2 separate regions of the Homo sapiens genome follow, and region 1 is linked to region 2. Evidence: promoter capture Hi-C in human tissues and cell types (Jung and others, 2019). All regions are on one chromosome and are shown on one strand. Each heading gives the region's core, a stretch centred on a gene start or on the middle of the fragment in contact. The rest is flanking DNA. Distances are from core to core; before and after follow the strand shown.

Evidence for each region. Contacts are between HindIII fragments. The study calls those that stand out against the background at their distance.
Region 1: a fragment that was not itself captured here is called in contact with the fragment with the promoter of ASL in region 2 in 1 of the 25 tissues and cell types used here (spleen).

What each region holds. Positions count from the first base shown.
Region 1 is chr7:67,314,004-67,318,728 of GRCh38, reverse strand. It overlaps the pseudogene STAG3L4. Among named protein-coding and RNA genes, the nearest start is that of LINC01372, 20 kb to the left of the region's middle. The HindIII fragment of the contact is 8,480 bases long and covers 1-4,725 here.
Region 2 is chr7:66,074,042-66,079,094 of GRCh38, reverse strand. It overlaps ASL (argininosuccinate lyase), which reads right to left and starts at 3,276. Exons shown (of 17, transcript NM_000048.4): 1 at 3,239-3,276; 2 at 3,002-3,056. The coding sequence starts at 3,013. RefSeq lists an enhancer at 2,726-3,005 and a silencer at 3,106-3,635. The HindIII fragment of the contact is 4,995 bases long and covers 2,592-5,053 here.

The DNA.
Region 1 (4,725 bases), core at 1,213-3,712, 1.2 Mb before region 2:
TTTTGAGACGGAGTCTCGCTCTGTCACCCAGGCTGGAGTGCAGTGGCATGATCTCGGCTCACTGCAAGCTCCACCTCCCGGGTTCACGCCATTCTCCTGCCTCAGCCTCCTGAGTAGCTGGGACTACAGACACCCACCACCACGCCCGGCTAATTTTTTGTATTTTTAGTAAAGACGGGGTTTCACCGTGTTAGCCAGGATGGTCTCGATCTCCTGACCTCGTGATCCGCCCACCTCGGCCTCCCAGAGTGCTGGGATTACAGGGGTGAGCCACCGTGCCTGGCCATATAATTATTTTTACACAAACTGTATGCCATTTACACTGTTCAGCACCTCACTTTTCTCACTAATGATATATCTTGGAGATTGGCCTCTGTGGGTGCAGGAAGGCTTCCTCACTTTTCATGGCTGCAGAGTCTATGGTACGGAGGTCCACAGTTTTATTTCATTTATTTATTTATTTAATTTTGAGACAGGGTCTCACTCTGTCACCCAGGCTGGAGTGCAGAGGCACCATCTCGGCTCACTGCAACCTCCCAGGTTCAAGCTATCCCCCTGCCTCAGCCTCCCTAGTAGCTGGGATTACAGGTGCCCACCACCAAGCCTGCCTAATTTTTGTATTTTTAGTAGAGACGGGGTTTTACCATGTTGGCCAGGCTGGTCTTGGACTCCTGAGCTCAAGTGATCCGCCCACCTCGGCCTCCCAAAGAGCTGGGATTACAGGCGTGAGCACCATGCCCACCCATGCCTCCTCTTTTTTTAAGAGAGAGAGTCTCACTCTGTCACCCAGGCTGGAGTGCAGTGGTGCAATCATAACTCACTGCATCCTCGAACTCCTGGGCTCAAACAATCCTCCTGCCTCAGCCTCCTGAATAGCTGAAACTACATGTGAATGCCACCACACCCAGCTAATTTTTTGTTTGTAGAGATGTAGAGACAAGGATCTTGCTATGTTGCTCAAGCTGGTCTTGAACACCTGACTTCCAGCCCTCCTCCTGCCTCAGCCTCCCAAACTGCTGGGATTACCAGAGTGAGCCACCTCGCCCAGCCTCCAGACCTTTTTGAATTCCAGAATTGAAAAGCAATTTTAGATCTATAATATGGTTTTTAGAAGATTGCTGAGGGCCTTGATAAGAAACAACAGTGGGGAGAGGAGAGCTTGAACTAACACTTACTGGAAGAAGACAAAGAAATCCTAGGCTGGGCACAGTGGCTCAGGCCTGTAAACCCTGCAGTTTTGGAGGCCGAGGCAGGCAGATCACTTGAAGTCAAGAGTTTGAGACCAGCCTGGCCAACATGGTGAAACTCCATCTCTCCTAAAAATACAAAATTATCCAGGTACAGTGGCACGTGTCTGTAGTCAGGAGGCTGAGGCAGGAGAATTGCTTGAAACGAAGAGGCGGAGGTTGCAGTGAGCCAAGATCATGCCACTGCACTCCAGCCTGGGTGACAGAATGGCATTTTGGTATTTTAGATACCAAAAAAAACCATTAAAAATTAAAAATAAAAACATAAAAATCTGCCCAGAGGCCAGGTGTGGTGGGTACACCGGTAATCCCAGCATTTGGGGAGGCCAAGGCAGGAGAATCACTTGAGCCCAGGAGTTGGAGACCAGTCTAGGCAACATTGCGAAACCTCATCTCTACAAAAAATACAAAAGTTAGCCAGGCATGGTGGCAGGCACCTGTAGTCCCAGTTACTCAGGAGGCTGAAGTGGGAGGGTGCTTTGAGCCCAGGAAGCAGAGGTTGCAGTGAGCCGAGATCTCGCCACTGCACTCCAACCTGGGCAAGAGAGCCAGACTTCATCTCAAAAATAAATGAATACATACTAAAATAAATAAAATGTATTTTTAAAATGCCTAGAACATTCTGTTCTTCTTTTTTTTTTTTTTTTTTGAGACGGAGTCTTGCTCCGTCACCCAGGCTGGAGTGCAGTGGTACAATCTCAGCTCACTGCAACCTCTGCCTCCCAGGTTCAAGCGATACTCCTGCCTCAGCCTCCTGAGTAGCTGGGATTACAGGCGCCTGCCACCATGCCCAGCTGTTTTTTGTATTTTTAGTGGAGCTAGGGTTTCACCATGTTGATCAGGCTGGTCTCAAACTCCTGACCTCGTGATCCACCTGCCTCGGACTTCCAAAGTCCTGGGATTACAGGTGTTGCGCCACCGCACCTGGCCGGGTTTTGTTTTCTCATTTCTGTTGTGTTTGTTTTGTTTTGTTTTTTCGAGATGGAGTCTCACTCTACTGCCCAGGCTGGAGTCAGTGGTTCAATCTCAGCTCACTGCAACCTCCAACTCCCGGGTTCAAGCAATTCTCCTGCCTCAGCCTCCCGAGTAGCTGAGATTACAGTCGCTCACTACCATGCCCTGCTAATTTTTGTATTTTTAGTACAGACAGGGTTTCACGATGTTGACCAGGCTGGTCTCAAATTTCTGACCTCAGACGATCCACCTGCCTCTGCCTCCCTAAGTGCTGTAATTACAGGCATGAGCCACTGTGCCTGGTCTGTTTTTGTTTGTTTGTTTGTCTTTTGAGACAGAGTCTAGTTGCCCAGGCTGGAGTGCAATGGCGTGATCTCGGCTCACTGCAACCTCTGCTTCCCCGGTTCGAGATTCTTCTACCTCAGCCCCCTAAGTAGCTGGGATTATTGGTGCATGCCACAACACCCAGCTAATTTTTTTTTTGTATTTTTAGTAGAGATGGAGTTTTCACCATGTTGGCCAGGCTGGTCTCAAGCTCCTGACCTCAAGTGATCTGCCTGTCTTGGCCTCCCAAAGTCCTTGGATTACAGGCATGAGCCATCATGCCTGGCCAGCAGGCAAGACATAGGGTTTATTAAGGGGACTTACAGGGTAGTCCAGACATGGCAGGTGGAACAGGAGAATCACACCTGCTTACAAAAAGCATGCAGTTGGGCCGGGCGTGGTGGCTCACGCCTGTAATCCCAGCACTTTGGGAGGCCAAGGTGGGCGGATCACAAGGTCAGATTGAGACCATCCTGGCTAACATGGTGAAACCCCGTCATCTCTACTAAAAATACAAAAAATTAGCCAGGCGTGGTGGGAGGTGCCTGTAGTCCCAGCTACTCGGGAGGCTGAGGCAGGAGAATGGTGTGAACCCAGGCGGCAGAGCTTGCAGTGAGCCGAGATTGTGCCACTGCACTCCAGCCTGGGTGACAGAGCAAGACTCTGTCTCAAAAAAAAAAAAAAAAAAAAAGCATGCAGTTTATAGAGCATTTCCACTTAGCACCCTCCCCCTAGCACCCTCCCTCTGGCAAACCTTCACTGAACCCCAAACAAAGGCCACCATCCCCTAGATGGTCCAGGGGTTCAGATGTTCCTCACAGATAAGAAATGAATCTCTGGGTTGGCCACTCCTGGATTCCTTAGCTTAGAATTTTCAACACATACTCTTCTTAAGACCATGGGGTCATTTTCAAGGTATGCTGATGTTACTGTTGTCAGATGTGTTTGCCATGCATCATAGCTAACCACTAGGAAGTTCTATAAGTGAGGCAAGGCCTTAAGAACATACTCTGAGCTAGAAGTGTCAAGTTGGAGGCCCTCGACATTAGAAGCCAGAGACTGGGTACACCCCACATAGTGAGAGAAGGTGAGGGATGTGGGGATGTGTCAGCTATATCCATTGCTACCCAGCAAACCATTCCAAGTCTTAGTGGAGAAAAATAACTTTTTTTTTTTTTTTTTTTTTTTGTCAGAGGCAGGTTCTCATTCTGTCACCCAGGCTGGAGTGCAATGGTGCAAACACGGCTTACTGCAGCCTCAACCTCCTGGGCTCAAGTGATCCCCCCCACCTCAGCCTCCCAAGTAGCTGCAACTACAGGCATGCATCACCATGCCCCAGTAATTTTTGTATTTTTTTGTAGAGAAGGGGTTTTGCCATGTTGCCCAGTCTGGTCTTGAAGTCCTGACCTCAAGGTCTCCACCCGCCTTGGCCTCCCAAAATGCTGGGATTACAGGCATGGGCCATCACACCCAGCCTGATGTTACTACTATAACTGTTTTGGGGTACCACGAACCATGCCCATATAAGATGGCAAACTTAACAAATGTTGTCTGTGTTCTGACTACCCTACCAACAAGCTTCCCTGTCTCTGTCTCTCTCCTCAGGCCTCCCTATTCATTCCTTGAGACATAAAAGTATTGTAATTAGGTCAATTAATAACCCTCTTAAGTATCCAAATGAAAGGAAGAGTCATATGTTTCTCATTTTAAATCAAAAGCTAGAAATGATTAAGCTTAGAGGCCAGGCGTGGTGGCTCATACCTATATTCTCAGCACTTTAGGTGGCCGAGGTGGCAAATCACTTGAGGTCAGTTTGAGACCAGCCTGGCCAACATGGCGAAACCCTGTCTTTACTAAAAACAGAAAATTAGCCGGGCACGGTGGCAGGCACCTATAATCCCAGCTACTCAGGAGGCTGAGGCAGGAGAATCGCTTGAACCTGGGAGGCGGAGGTTGCAGTGAGCCGAGATCACGCCATTGCACTCTAGCCTGGGCAACAAAGCGAGACACTATCTCAAAAAGACAAAAAAAAAAAAAAAAAAAAAGAAATGATTAAGCTTAGTTGAAAGCCAAGACAGGCCAATCAATAGCTAGGCCTCTTGTGCCAAACAGCCAAGTTGTGAATGCAAAAGAAAAATTCTTGAAAGAAATTAAAAACGCTACTCCAGTGAACACACAAAGGGTAAGAAAGTTAAACAGT
Region 2 (5,053 bases), core at 2,027-4,526:
ACACACACAAAAAAATTAGCCAGGCATGGGGGTGTTGGGCGCCTGTAGTCCCAGCTACTTGGGAGGCTGAGGCAGGAGAATGGCGTGAACCCGGGAGGCGGAGCTTGCAGTGAGCTGAGATCGTGCCACTGCACTCCAGCCTGGGCGACAGAGCAAGACTCTGTCTCAAAACAAAAACAAAAACAAAAACCCTCAGGGTTGGGAGGCCCAGGCAGGTGGATCGCTTGAGGTCAGGAGTTCGAGATCAGCCTGGCCAACATGGTGAAACCTCATCTGTACTAAAAATATAAACATTAGCCAGGCGCGGTGGCAGGAAGCTGTAGTCCCAGCCACTTGGGAGTCTGAAGCAGGAGAATCACTTGAATCCTGGAGGTAGAGGTTGCGGTGAGCAGAGATGGCGCCATTGTACTCCAGCTTGGGCGACAGAGCAAGACTCCTTCTTAAAAATAATAATAATAATAATAATAAGATAAGGATAATAATAGTACCTCTCTGATAGCCTTATTGTGAGCATTTAATCAGATAATATTTGCAAATTGCATACATAACACGGTGCCTGGTGCTCAGGAAGGACTCGAGAAATGCCAGCTGTTACTAAGGGAGGGCTGGCAGGGGATAGGACATGCTTCAGCTCCACTCCTGGTTCCTGTATGCACCCCAGAGACCTCTCCAGTGCTCTGGCCCTGAGCTGTGAGCTGACTCCTCTATGCCCAACAGTCCCGACTGCCAAAGGACTCTGCCCTGCAGAGGCAGCCTCCGCCCCCACCCCATCTTTGAGCTGGTCCTGCCCCTTACCCCACAGCTGCCCCACCAAGCCTAGATCTCCAGCAAAGCACCACGTGGGGCCCTGGTCCTGATCACTGGAGCCAGCCAGTCAGAATTGGGGCCAGCCTGCCCCTCAGCCAGGAGCCTGGCACCGCCTCCCCCAGCGGGCTCCTGGGCCACCCTGCCTAGGTTGTTAGTAATAAAAATAACTACTTAATAAGTGGAGCTGCAGCCAAACCAATTAGTGCCAACCTACAGGAAGGCCTGGGGCAACCTGAGGTCACCTAGAACACTGGGCTTGTTGGAAGCCAGACCACTCTGCTCTAGAACCAAACTCCTATCCTTACTGGCAGGCATAAGAGGACCCCACAGGGAGATCAGAGTGAGGTGCCTCCCCTTGGGCACTGAGGAGAGTGGAGGCCTAGTGTGGTAGCAGAAGGTGCTACTCCAAGCCAGGACACATCTGGGCCAGAATGGTCTCTTCAGGGCCAGGGGATGGGGCACTGAGTTGGGCTGGGTTGAATGAGCAACAGTTAAGGTCGAATGTACATGGGAAATACCAGTTTTGGTTTTGGGACTTGTGGGTTTTTTTTCTTTTTTTGAGGTGGAGTCTTGCTTTGTCGCCCAGGCTGGAGTGCAGTGGTGCGATCTCAGCTCACTGCAACCTCCGCCTCCCGAGTTCAAGCGATTCTCCTGCCTCAGCCTCCCGAATAGCTGGGACTACAGGCACCCACCACTACACCCAGCTAATTTTTGCATTTTTAGTAGAGACGGGGTTTCACCATGTTGGCCAGGCTGGTCTCAAACTCCTGACCTCAGGTGATCTGCCCACCTCGACCTCCCAAAGTGCTGGGATTACAGGTGTGAGCCACCATGCCTGCCAGGTTTTTTTATTTTTATTTTTTTGAAACTGGATCTCACTCTGTTGCCTGGGCTGGAGTGCAGTGGTGAGATCATGCTCACTGCAGTCTCAAACTCCTGGGCTCAAGCAATCCTCATGCCTCCGCCTCCTGTGAGACTACAGGTGTACGCCACCACACCTGGGTAATTTTCAAAATCTTTTTGTAGAGACAGGGTCTCATTACATTGCCCTGGCTGGTCTGGAATTCCTGGGCTTCAGCAGTCCTCCCGCCTCGGCCTCCCAAAGTAGAAATATCAGTATTGTTGTGGTTAGCCACCATTTATTGAGCACCTACTGTTGCTCAGCCCTGTGCTAGGGATTTCACATATGTTATTACGGCCTTTTATGAGGTGGGCAATATTACCCCTATTTCACAAATGAGGAAAGAGGTTTAAAGGGCTCAAGTGACTGGTACAGAAACCAAGTCTGTTTGGCTCCAAAGTCCAGGCCCTACCCCCCTGCCATGACCCAGAAGCTTGCAGGGCACTGAGCTTGCAGGGCATTGAGAAAGAGGAAGTGAATTGCTAGCTAATGAAGGCCAAAAGGGCCTGGAACCCAGACCTCCTGCTTCCCGGAGTTCCCTTCATCAAGCATCAGGCGAACAGCCCCTCTCACCTGAAGGGTCCAAAGCAATGGCCTCATAATCTAGTGCCTTACAGAGTGAGGCCGACAGCTATTATTACCCCCATTGCCAGATAAATCAACTATGGCCCAAGGAAGGAAAACCTCTGCCTGGGAATCCAGCATCTCAGTGGTCAGGAGGAGAGGCCAGGAGCCACTGACCCTAAGAGGCAGGGTCCAGTGAGACAGGAAGGGACCAGGCACCAGGGTTGCTGGAGCCACGAGGCGACGTCCCCTTTTTCCTGGCTCTTTCCACATGCCACAGTCAAGGACAAGAACACTTAGGGGCTGAGCTTTATTCTATAAACAGGGACAATTGCTCTAGCAGGAGAAGGGATGTGGTGTGGGGTGGGACCTGACAGGAGGACACGTGGTAAGAAGGAAGGAAGAGTTGGAAGGCTGAAGGCTTGGGAGCCACTTTTCCTGGCCAGGCAGGCATCACTGTGAGGTGAGGGCAGAGCCACTCTACCCCTAGTAGTGTGGGTTGGTGGGTTTGCCACAAGGGCTGCCTGCGGATACTGGTGAGTCCTGGTAAAGGTGACTGCTGGGCTCCAGATGATGCGCCCGGGAGGGCTGGGGGTGCAGGCTTCCTAGGTAATTTTCAAAATTGCTTCCTGGAGGGCGATTCCCAGCAGGGTGGCCCGAGGCAGGTCTGGCGCCCCCACTCTCTCCTTTGGAGGCTAGGAGGACCGGAGTCCCCGAGGTCCCACTCACCTCCGAGGCCATGTTGGGCGGTTCCTCGTCGTCCGGAAGCTTCGGTCCTCCGGGTCTGGAAGACAAGACCGGACTGACGACCTCCTTGGCCAGCAGGGTCCCCCGGGCCGGGCTGGCTCCGAGTTCTGGGCACTGCGCTTGAGGGAGCGCAGCCCTTGGGGACGCGGACGTGAGCGCGCGCCACGGTGCTCGGCGTCCTCCACGCCCGTCCCGCCCATCCGGCCGCCGCGCACTCACCTCCGCCTGGCCGCACGGATAGTGTCGCGCCCGCCACTGGCCAGGGCTTTTCTGGCCGGGATGGCGTCAGCAGCCGCCGGTCCTGTCCCCACCCCTGGCGACGGCCGCGCCAATAGGAGGCCGCCCGGCGGGGTGGGCGTTGCCTCCATCCTCCAATCCTGGCCGTGGGCGGGGATACCTCCCGCTGAGCTGGAGGCTAAGCGGCCCCGGGGCGGGGAAGCGGGCGGGGAAAGGGTTGGGGGGACCCCGACGGGGAAGGGGCCTGGGCTGGGGTTGAGGAGGGTAGTGCGCTGGCGTTCGTGCTGTGGTCAGCAGACACGCAGGGGACTGGAGACTCGGGCCAGGGGTAGAGGCTATGACATCAGGCCCGGGCCTGGCAGGTTCACAAGATATATAAGGTGAAATGGCATGTTCGCTCATTCACTCATTCATTCATTCATTCAACAAACACGTACCAGGCACCTCTATGTGCCAGGTACAGAGAAAGGCATCAAGGAAAAAGGAAGGACCATCAGAAATGAAGCCTGTGCCAGGCGCGGTGGCTCACAGCTGTAATCCCAGCACTTTGGGAGGCCGAGGTGGGAGGATCGCTTGAGGCTACGAGTTGGAGACCAGCCTGGGCAATACAACAAGATCCCGTCTCTACAAAAAAATTAATAATAATAAAAAAAAAGCCGGGCGTGGTGGTGCACGCCTGCAGTCCTAGCTACTCAGGAGGCTGAGGCGGGAGGAGCACTTGAGCCCAGGAGTTCGAAGCTGCAGTGAGCTATTGTGCCACGGCACTCCAGCCTGACTCCTCTAAAAAAGAAAAGAAACGCGGCCGGAGGCCGGGCGCGGTGGCTCACGCCTGTAATCCCAGCACTTTGGAAGGCCGAGGCGGGTGGATCACGAGGTCAGGAGTTTGAGACCAGCCTGGCCAAGGTGGTGAAACCCCGTCTCTACTAAGAATACAAAAATTAGCCGGGCACGGTGGCGGGTGCCTGCAATCCCAGCGACTCCGGAGGCTGAGGCAGGAGAATCTCTTGAACCCGGGAGGCGGAGATTGCAGTGAGCTGAGATGGTGCCATTGCACTCCAGCCTGGGTGACAGAGCAAGATTCTGTCTCAAAAAAAAAAAAAAAAAAAAAAAGAAAGAAAGAAAGAAAGAAAGAAAAGAAAAGAAAAAAGAAACGCAGCCGGGCACAGTGGCTTACGCCTTTAATCCCAGCACTTTGAGAGGCTGAGGCGGGCGGATCACCTGAGGTCAGGAATTCGAGATGAGCCTGGCTGACATGGTGAAACCTTGTCTCTATTAGCCGGGTGTGGTGGTGGGTGCCTGTAGTCCCAGCTACTCCGACAGCTGAGGCAGGAGAATCACTTGAACCAGGGAGGTGGAGGCTGCAGTGAGCTGAGACGGCACCACTGCACTGCAGCCTGGGCGACAGTGAGACTCTTGTCTCGAAAAAAAAAAAAAAAAAAGAAAGAAAGAAAGAAAAAGAAAAAGAGAAGAGAAAACAAAGAAAGAAACGAAACAAAAGAAATGAAGCCTGACTTCAAGAAGTTCCAACATAGCATGGAGGAGGTGTGCAGGGAGCACAGGCGTTGGGGAGGGGGGCTATGTTGGGTACTCAGGGAAGAGGTCCTTGATCTGATTAATTAATTATTCAACCAAAATGTCAGGCTGGATTCTAGGCACTGGAAGTACCCTGAAGGGGCTTCTAATGAACCTGTCTTCTGCATTGGGTCTTGGAAGATGGGGGGAATTTGCCCAGGGAAGAAGGGGAGAACATTCCAGGCAGAGGGAGAAGTCTGGACAAAAAATGTGACTGGCCTGCTT